Regions from separate parts of the Homo sapiens genome. Here all the other regions are linked to region 1. The links are contacts of gene promoters, found by promoter capture Hi-C in human tissues and cell types (Jung and others, 2019). All regions are on one chromosome and are shown on one strand. Each heading gives the region's core, a stretch centred on a gene start or on the middle of the fragment in contact. The rest is flanking DNA. Distances are from core to core; before and after follow the strand shown. Region 1 holds the start of SLC5A1 (solute carrier family 5 member 1). Region 2 overlaps LOC107985561 (a long non-coding RNA gene). Region 3 overlaps BPIFC (BPI fold containing family C).

Evidence for each region. The method cuts DNA at HindIII sites, captures the fragments that hold promoters and counts their contacts. A contact is called where the count stands out against the background at its distance.
Region 2: a contact is called between a fragment that was not itself captured here and the fragment with the promoter of SLC5A1 in region 1, in 5 of the 25 tissues and cell types used here (H1 embryonic stem cells, IMR-90 fibroblasts, heart right ventricle and 2 more).
Region 3: a fragment that was not itself captured here is called in contact with the fragment with the promoter of SLC5A1 in region 1 in 2 of the 25 tissues and cell types used here (dorsolateral prefrontal cortex and neural progenitor cells).

Annotation. Positions count from the first base shown.
Region 1 is chr22:32,041,946-32,045,131 of GRCh38, forward strand. It overlaps SLC5A1 (solute carrier family 5 member 1), which reads left to right and starts at 1,316. Exons shown (of 15, transcript NM_000343.4): 1 at 1,316-1,471. The coding sequence starts at 1,337. The HindIII fragment of the contact is 11,764 bases long and covers 1-3,186 here.
Region 2 is chr22:32,340,118-32,343,086 of GRCh38, forward strand. It overlaps LOC107985561 (a long non-coding RNA gene), which reads right to left. Exons shown (of 2, transcript XR_001755500.2): 1 at 2,895-2,969. It also overlaps a transcript of SLC5A4 not described here. Among named protein-coding and RNA genes, the nearest start is that of RFPL3, 16 kb to the right of the region's middle. The HindIII fragment of the contact is 3,874 bases long and covers 1-2,969 here.
Region 3 is chr22:32,433,573-32,436,589 of GRCh38, forward strand. It overlaps BPIFC (BPI fold containing family C), which reads right to left. Exons shown (of 17, transcript NM_174932.3): 10 at 2,132-2,308; 11 at 147-200. Among named protein-coding and RNA genes, the nearest start is that of RTCB, 23 kb to the left of the region's middle. The HindIII fragment of the contact is 8,775 bases long and covers 1-3,017 here.

The DNA.
Region 1 (3,186 bases), core at 66-2,565:
AGTCCTGGGGGATGTGTGGGGGAAATGGGGAAGACCTGTGGGGATGCTGTCCAAATAATGATTCTTTGTCTGCAGCTTCAGTGGGAAGAACAGTTGCTGATACGGAAGGAGGGGAGGCAGACCTCTGAAGCATTGAGTGCAAAGGAACAGGATGCTCACATTTAGGCAGTGGGTGGTTGTCTAGCAGTGGGCAGGGAGGGCCTGAGGCAGACCAGAGTCCTGGCAGGGTTTCTGTGGTCCTCTGCCTCCCTGCACCTCCCCATCAGAGCAAGGCCCCCCTCTTTGGGAACAGTCACTTTTGGCTGCTCTGTGGCCTCTAGAGCCAGCCCCTGAGAATACCCCACAGCCCTCCCTCTGAACCCTGGCATGGGCTGCAGGGCCAGCTCTGCTGCTGGTTTCCTGTATGACCTTGGGCAAGTCATGCCTCCTCTCTTGGTCATCTCTGTTCTGAGCCCTGGCTTGCTGTTTAGACATGTGTTTCCAGATGGGTGAGCTGAGTCCCCAGGAAGGTCAGGGTTTGATGAACTCCTTGGAAAGGGTTCTCTAGTATCTTCCCTTCTGCTGCCTCTGGAGGGCCCTGCATCAATACTGGGAGAGGGACAGGGCAAGGAAATAGCTCCCGGTGAGATCCCTTCCCCCAGTCTCAGTTTCTTCCTCTTTACAGTGGGGGTAACAGTGGACCTGGGGGCTGCAGGCTGTGGAGGGGGAGTCAGGAATGTGGGTGGGTGGGTGGCTGTCCTTGTGGCCAAGAGATTAGGATTGTGCTGGTTTTTTTCCAGTGACACCCAGCAACTCTCTGTCCTCTCAAGAATGTTCTCCAGGGAGAACAAGACTTGACTGATTCTTCAGAAGAGTGCTGCACCCATTTTACAAGCGGACAAGCCAAGTCCTTAGAAGGCATGGGACTAGTCCAAGGATGGGTGGCAGGTGATCTGAAGCCTCTAGGCTCCTAGCCCCAGGTGGCCTGTTCCCTCAATGGAGCCACTCCAGCTCTGGCAAGGGCAGGTGTGGTGGCGCTGCTGGTGCCTGCTGTGGGAGTACAGTGGGCCTTTGTGCCAGGCGGGCACCACCCCCTGGCTGGCCCCTCCCCATTCGCAGGACAGCTCTTACCTGCCGGGCCGCCGCCCCAGCCAACAGCTCAGCCGGGTGCTCCTTCCTGGGCTCCACGCCCGGAGCTGCTTCCTGACGGTGCAGCCGCAAGGCATCGCAGGGGCCCCGCGCTACTGCCCTGCTCCCTCAAAGTCCCAGGTCCCCTCCCCTGGTGCTGATCATTAACCAGGAGGCCGTATAAGGAGCTAGCGGCCCTGGCGAGAGGGAAGGACGCAACGCTGCCACCATGGACAGTAGCACCTGGAGCCCCAAGACCACCGCGGTCACCCGGCCTGTTGAGACCCACGAGCTCATTCGCAATGCAGCCGATATCTCCATCATCGTTATCTACTTCGTGGTAGTGATGGCCGTCGGACTGTGGGTATGCAGCGGGTTCTGGGATGCGGGTGGGGAGGGTGCGCACAGAGGAGGAGCAATGGCCTCGCTGAGCTGCAAGGGGCAGTAGGCTTAAGTGTCGGTGGAGGGGAGAGGAAATGACTTGGAAGCACTTTAGAAGCACTCAGAGGCACAGCATGAAGGGAGGAGGGCAAGCAAGGATGAGCAGAAGTGAGAAGGGTGCCCAGGGCAGCCTGCCAGGAAGGACCAAGGAGGATACCTGAGCCTGTGAGCAGAGAAGGAAGGTGGGGGTTTGAAGAGACCGCTGGAAAGTGTAAGGGGCAGGAAAGCGGCTGCTTAGAGCTACAGGGAGGGCTCTGGGGCTTGGGAGATGAGCCTCTAGCAGGTGACTACTGTCCTACCTTTTAGTCATCCAGTTTCAGATGGGAAAGAAATGGTGTGGAGTGGGAAAGCCACAGCCTCTGCCAGCCCCAGAGATGGGGATGCTGAGGTGGCAGACAGAGGGATGCTGACCCATGCCCCACTCCTGGGAGAGGCTAACCCAGAGGCCTTGTGCATGAGGATCCCAGGGGCTGGATCAAGTTAGAGATGAGAAAGATGGGTGGAAAAGGAGGAGGAGGAAGACCTGGGGGTGACCTGGCACTGGGGAGAGGGAAATGTGTGTGTCTCCTTTTGGGACTCTGGGGACACAGCAAACCAGAGAAACTTGTTCTCAGCCACCTGGAACATGGGCATTTCACTTATGACAGACTGTGGCAGGCCCAACAACTAGAGGAGGAGATGTTTTAAAAGTGTGCAGGACCGACTGTGGTGGTTCACTCCTGTAATCCTAGCACTTTGAGAGGCCAAGGTGGGAGGATTGCTTGAGTCCAGGAGTTCGAGATCAGCCTGGGCAACATAGTGAGACTCTGTCTCTACAAAAATAAAAAAAATTACAAAAAATATATAAAATGTTTGCAGATGTTCCAGCCATTCTCGTGATTGTTATGGAGGTGGAGGTGATAAGCCCAGGGAGGCTGCTGTAGCAGCTGGTGATTGTGTTGAACTCTTTTGACTTAGAGGAGAGGAAGGTAGGCATGAACACTTCTGTGGACACAGAGCTTTTTCAGGGACAAAAGGAAGTGTTTTTTTTTTTTTTTCCAAAGGAATTGTAGAAACTAGATGTGGCAGAATGCCTCCCAAGTGTCACATGGGGTCAGTATGGCTGACTTTTCCTCAATACTCTCAGCTTCCCAGACATAGTGGAAACTGACCAACTAGGAGCCAGGATACTCAAGTTCACTACTGGCTTTCACATGGTTCAAATCATGGAACATTGGGTAACTTCCCTCAGCCTCCAGTTTACTCAACTTTAACATAGGTACACTCTTATCTATTCTAATGACTCCCCCATGGTTGTGGTGAGGATACGCAGAGGTGAATCTGAAAGCTGTTTATGGACTCTAGGATTAAAAAAAACTACTATTGTCATTTACCTTCCATGGTATGATCTGGGCTCTGAACAATGTTTATCCTTTTAAGTAAAATGGGCAGCAGTGGTCAGGTGGGTAGTATATTTTTACAAAAGCCACAAGACAGGGAAGGCCAGAATGCTAATCCCCGTTTTACAGAAGAGGAAATTGAAGCCTCATGTGGTTGTGATTTGTCTAAGGTTACAATAGATGAAATTGTTCCTGGAACTCAGATCTCTTGACTCCTGATTTTTTATGGTACCAGGCACTCTGCCACTGTGACTGACTT
Region 2 (2,969 bases), core at 376-2,875, 300 kb after region 1:
GTTTCCCAGGAATCTCTCTCCGAGCCTCCTCGGTGTCTCCTTCATAAAATGAGGCTCGGGATGGCCAAGCTGCAGTGCAGCTGGGGAGGCTAAATGGCACAATTTGTTACAGCTGCTTAGCTCAGTGAGCCCTCAACAAATGGGAGCTACTGTTACTAACGGTACTAATGCAGTTCATTGATCGGACACTGTCTAGGTGCCTTCTGTGCACAAGGCACTGGGCAGGAAGATTCATTCATGCAACATGGATGTACTGAGCACCTACTATGTGTCAGGCACTGTTCTATATGCTGGGGTCACAGCTGAGCACAAGAAACACCAATCCCAACTCTCTTGGGGTTTCCATCCAGCAGAGGAGACAGGCACAAAGCCACAAAGCAAACGTTATGTCAGGCGGCGACGCACGTGACAAGGCAGCTGAAGGAGGACAAAGGGAGAGTGACGGGAGTAGGTGGCTGCTTCTATTTTGTAAACCTTGGTCAGAGAAGGCCCCTTTGATCGGGTGACCCTGAGCAGGGGCTGTGGAAGGGAGGCATGAGCCCTGCTGGTATCCCGGAGGGGAGAGGTCTGGTTGGAGGAACAGCAGCGGGGCTGGTGCGGCTGCAGCCAAGTGCCAGTGTCGGGAGATGAGGACAGAGGGACAGTGGGGTGGGGTGGGGTCAGATCATGTTGTTGGCCAAGGAAAGCATTTTGATTCCTAAGTGCAAAGGAGACCATCGGCACGTCTTGACTTAATGTTTTTAAAAGATCGCCCTGCCACTGTCGGGGACACAGGCTGGCATCAGGGAGACATGCGGAGGCGGCTGCCTCCATCCTGGCCAAAGACGACGGACAAGGAGGGCTGGTCTCAGTGGAGGGGTGGGTGCGGATGGATTCTGGCTTCATTTTCAAGGTATTGCTGATGGAACACGTGAAACAGGAAAGAAAGAGAGGAGCCAATGAGATGGTAGGAGGCAGCGGGGACGTGGATGTGCCAGTCTCCCACGTCTATGGGGTATCCAAGAGCTGCTCTTGAGGACTCAGGCTCTGCAATGAACAGCTAGTCTGGATTCAAGGGAGAGAGACCAGGGGAGAAAGACTGGGAGGTGGACAGGATTGGAGCTGTGGGTCTGGGTGGGGGTCCCCAGGGAGTGGGTGGAGATGAGAGAGAAGTTAAAGGGAAGAGCCCTGGTCTCTAAGATCAGGGAGATGAGGATGGAGCCGCAAAGAGGAGCAAGAAGGGCGGCCGTGAGGGGCCAGGAGCCTGTGGGGCAGAGGACCCAGGGCTCCCCAGTTCCCCTCAGCCCCTCCCTCCTCCGAGGCTCTGCCTATGCTGCCCTCTCTGCCGGGATGACCTTTCCCCACTTTGGTGAACTCCTAGCTACTCATCCACTGAAACTCTTTGTGTTGGCTCCTCCTCCCCTGGCTGACCAGTGCTTAGTCCAGTGGACCGTGAATCCTGGGACAGCAGAGCACTGTCTTCAACAGAGCCGTGAACAGCGGGGAAGGCTCACGGACGTGACGCCGGAGAGCATCCTTCAAAACCTACCAAATGCTTCTTGCCACAACTGAGTAATTCTGAAGTCCTATCCGTGGCCTAAATGGCCCCTTATGTTCTGCCCCTGCCAACCTCTTCATTTCCTACACTTCTTCTGCTAATGCACTCTGCCTAACGCTGCCTTTCTTGCTGTTCTCCAAATACACCCAGCGTGTTTTCAACTCATGCCCTTTTTACATTTCACTCCCTCCACCTGAGTGAACCATGAAACTATGTGAGTAAAGAGCATATTCAGGTCTCTGCTTAAATTGCCTCTCGTTAGAGAGATCTCCCTGGATCGCTTCATTTTCTCCCCGACATTTAACACTACTTGAAATTTTATTGTTATTACAAAAGCATTTTATTTTCTTTGTCTCCCCAGGCAGACCGTAAGCTCTGTTCACCAATGTATCACCAGTGGCTAGTACAGTCCCTGGTATATGATACAAACTCAAACCCTATGTGCTAAATAAATGGTAGCAGGAATTAGCATAAAATAAAACTGAAAATGGCTAATGCTACACAAATGGCTAATGCTACACATTATAACTAAAACATGAAGTTTGCTTTAGATGTAAGAACTGACTTGAGAACCTCTTCCTTTTGATTTCAAAGAACACAAAAAAATTTGACCCAGGAAAAATTAGACCTGGTAGAAACAACACCAAGTAACATTGTAGAAGCCTAAAACCACACAGAATAAAATCTGTAACTAATAATGATGGAAGAAGCAAATCTTGACAATAATCAAGATTTGTAATAACTAATCTATGTGAATGAGACCTGGTAGATATAACTATAGAGAGAAAAAAACCACTAGCAGGAGCTGAAATCCACAGACTTTAAGATAAACAAAAACAACCCAAAATTTCTTTGTGAAAGTTAATAATCTTAATAAATTAAAAATCAAAATAGAAGTACTTAGAATTTACTTCTACTTCATATAAAATTAATTTAAAAATTAAGCTTATTTAAGCAATACTTAGAAGTAATTTACTTCTACTTCATATGAAATTAATTTAAAATTAAGCTTATTTAATAGTGTCCACTGGAAAATACTTTCCCAATAAAAGTTATTCAATATTATAATAATTCTGATTCAAATCTGGATTCCCAAACATGCCAGCTAACATTCTGGAGAGGAAAACACCCATCAGAACAAAATGGCATATTCAAAATTAGAGTCAAAAAATATTCACTTCAATTAATACAGAGCATGAGAAAACTAGCTTTTTGGCTGCTAGATCACATTGTTGACAACTGCTATTTCCAAGTTTTGTCTTTTTTCCCCCAATCCCTGCCATGTAGCCATGGCTCCTGTACAGTTGAGTATTTAATCAAACACAGAACTGAAAAAATCATCCCTTTCAGATCTTACATGGTTGGTTGTTGAATACTTCTGTAATCCTAAAACTTGTTTGTCTTTCTCAGCGGCCTTCTAATACTCTCTCAT
Region 3 (3,017 bases), core at 149-2,648, 390 kb after region 1:
TTTGTAGATATTCGATTACGAGAAAAAACTCCCAATAATAGACAGAGGGACTTATCCAAAAAGGAATACGTAGAACCCACAAGTCTTCCAGAAGTAATTGCAATGGAGCCAAATACACTATCAAGACTCAAACCCTGAGCACTTACCCGGGAGAGCACGTTGCCAAGGCCTTGAGAGTTTTGAACAAAATGGTTGGAAATCTGGAAAATAAAGCCCATTATGTCACTGTTAGGATTTTACGTGGATTGTCTTTTCAGGGAAAATGTAGTGTTCCCTATAATTTGACGAATTGTGAAGCTGTTACACCATAAAATATTCAGTGTTTAAAGGTGACCTATCATTTTATAGCCCAATCATAGGGAATCCGAGGCTCAGAGAAGTAAAGTGACTTGCCCAAGGTCACACAGGATGTTATATTTCTTTTAACTCTGGGAACAATACAGTCTATTGTTAATAACTGTAGAATGTTTACACATGAATTGTACGTATGTAGTACAACAAAGTTTTAGTTATATATATATATATCTATATGTACATATTCTTTATTTTTATATATTACAACCTATCTATGTGTACATATTCTTTATATATATATTACAATCTATCTATGTGTACATATTCTTTATTTATGTATATTACAATCTAATGTGTACATATTCTTTATTTATATATATTACAATCTATGTGTACATATTCTTCATTTATATATTACACTCTATATGTACATAGTCTTTATATATATATTACACTCTGTGTACATATTCTTCATTTATATATATTACAATCTATGTGTACATATTCTTTATTTATATATATTACAATCTATGTGTACATATTCTTTATATATATTACAATCTATGTATACATATTATTTATATATATTACATCTATGTGTACATATTCTTCATTTATATATATTACAATCTATATGTACATAGTCTTTATTTATATATATATTACAATCTATGTGTACATATTCTTCACTTATATATATTACAATCTATCTATGTATACATATTCTACAGTCATTAACGATAAGCCTTGTGTTACTGTCCTCACTTTTAGGGATTACTGAGATACTGGATGCTTAAGGAATTTACCTTCAGAGATAAATGATTTTGAAGTCTGCAGCTAGAAGTGTCTAATTCTCAGTATCGTAAGATAGCCACTGCTGCCATACTTACCATTCTGAACATAAGCTTTATACCTACTTATATAATTAAAACATATAGAATGAGGAGATTCAAAAAGAGATGCTCAATAAAAGTTTTTGGTTGACTGGCTAGAGACAGTGCTGTCATTATAAAAGGGAGGTGCATGACAGAGGATCAATGAATATCTGTATTATTACTGATCATTGTAGATAAACCAGCTGTAATTACAACCAGGATAACTTTACGTCAGCATAATACAGGGAATAATGATGACAATGATGATAAGCAACAGTTATATCGCACTTATTCTGTGTTGGGGATTGGTCTGAATGCTTGACATGTATTTAAATCTTTTAATGCCCATATAAACTCTATGAGTAAGGAACTATTATTATCTGCCTTTTCCAGATGAAGAAATTCTGGCCCACAGAAGTTATATAAATTGAAATTACCTCTAAGGTCACAGGCAATACATGATGGAAAGGGATCTTGCTATTATTGGAGATTAATCTAGAACAGTGGTGAGTGGTGAGGTATTAGCAGAACTGGAAACTTGACAACTCCCCAACTAATACAGGTTGAACATTCCTAATCTGAATATCCAAAATTCAAAGTGCCCCAAAATCCAACTATTAAATGCTGACATGATACACAACGGAAATGCTTATTGGAGCATTTTAGATTTTGGATTTTCAGATTAGGGCTGCTCAACCGGTAAGTATATATAATGCAAATATCCCAAAATCTGACAAAATCCGAAATCCAGAACACTTCTGGTCCCAAGCATTTTGGATAAGGGATGCTCAACCCGTAACAATGTTCACTCCACAATTCCCTCATTCCTTCACTGTCTTGCTGGGAGTGATAGCCTAAAAAGGTCCCAGAATCGAAATTGTGGCATAAAAGTTCTACAATAGGATACTTATAAAAAGGCTGAATGATGGTGACCATTGACATCCTCAGTTAACTCTCCTCACCTCTTCGGTGGAGAGAGTGACATTGAAAACCCCAGCTGTGAAATGAGCAAAGGACGCAGATTTAAAGAAATACTCGGCGATTCCAATGTAGAGCATGGAGTTGCTGCGTTCTGGGAGCACAAAAGGAACTGGTGAGAAGGGGGGGTCGGTGAGGTTTTCCAGTGGGTAGAATACACCCTGTGGGAAAAGAGAGAGAAAGACCAGTGTATCAGGTGAAAACTCAAATTCTAAGAAGACTAAGAAGATGGACCCTCTGAAGTCAGAATAAGAATTCCAGAAGCTCGGGCCAGGTGTGGTGGCTCACGCCTATAATCCCAACACTTTGGGAGGCTGAGGCGGGTGAATCACTGGAACACTGGAGTTTGAATTGATTGAATGACTGTTTTTCCATGATCAACCTGGGCAACATGGCAGGCCCCGTTTCTATAAAAAATACAAAAATTAGCCAGGTGTGGTGGCGCGTACCTGTAGTTCCGGCTACTTGGGAGGCTGAGTGAGGTGAATCCCTTGAACCAGGGAGGTTGAAGCTGCAGTGAATTGTGACTGTGCCACTGCACTTCAGCCTCCAGCCTGGGTGACAGAGGGGGACCTTGTCCAAAAGAAGAAGAGGAAGAGGAAGAAGAAGAAGAAGAAAGAAGAGGAAGAGGAGGAGGAGGAGGAGGAGGAGGAGGAGGAAGAGGAGGAGGAGGAAGAGGAGGAGGAGGAGGGAAAAGAAGGAGAAGGAGAAGGAGAAGGAGAAGAAGAAGCATAAGAAGAAGAAGAAAAAGAAGAGGAAGAAGAAGAAGAAGAAGAATCCTAGAAACTCAGTAATGATGAAAAACTGTTAAGGCTTTCTGACTCCTTGACCAGTGACTATTTTTCAAAGCTCTTAGGATTCTTGAGCATA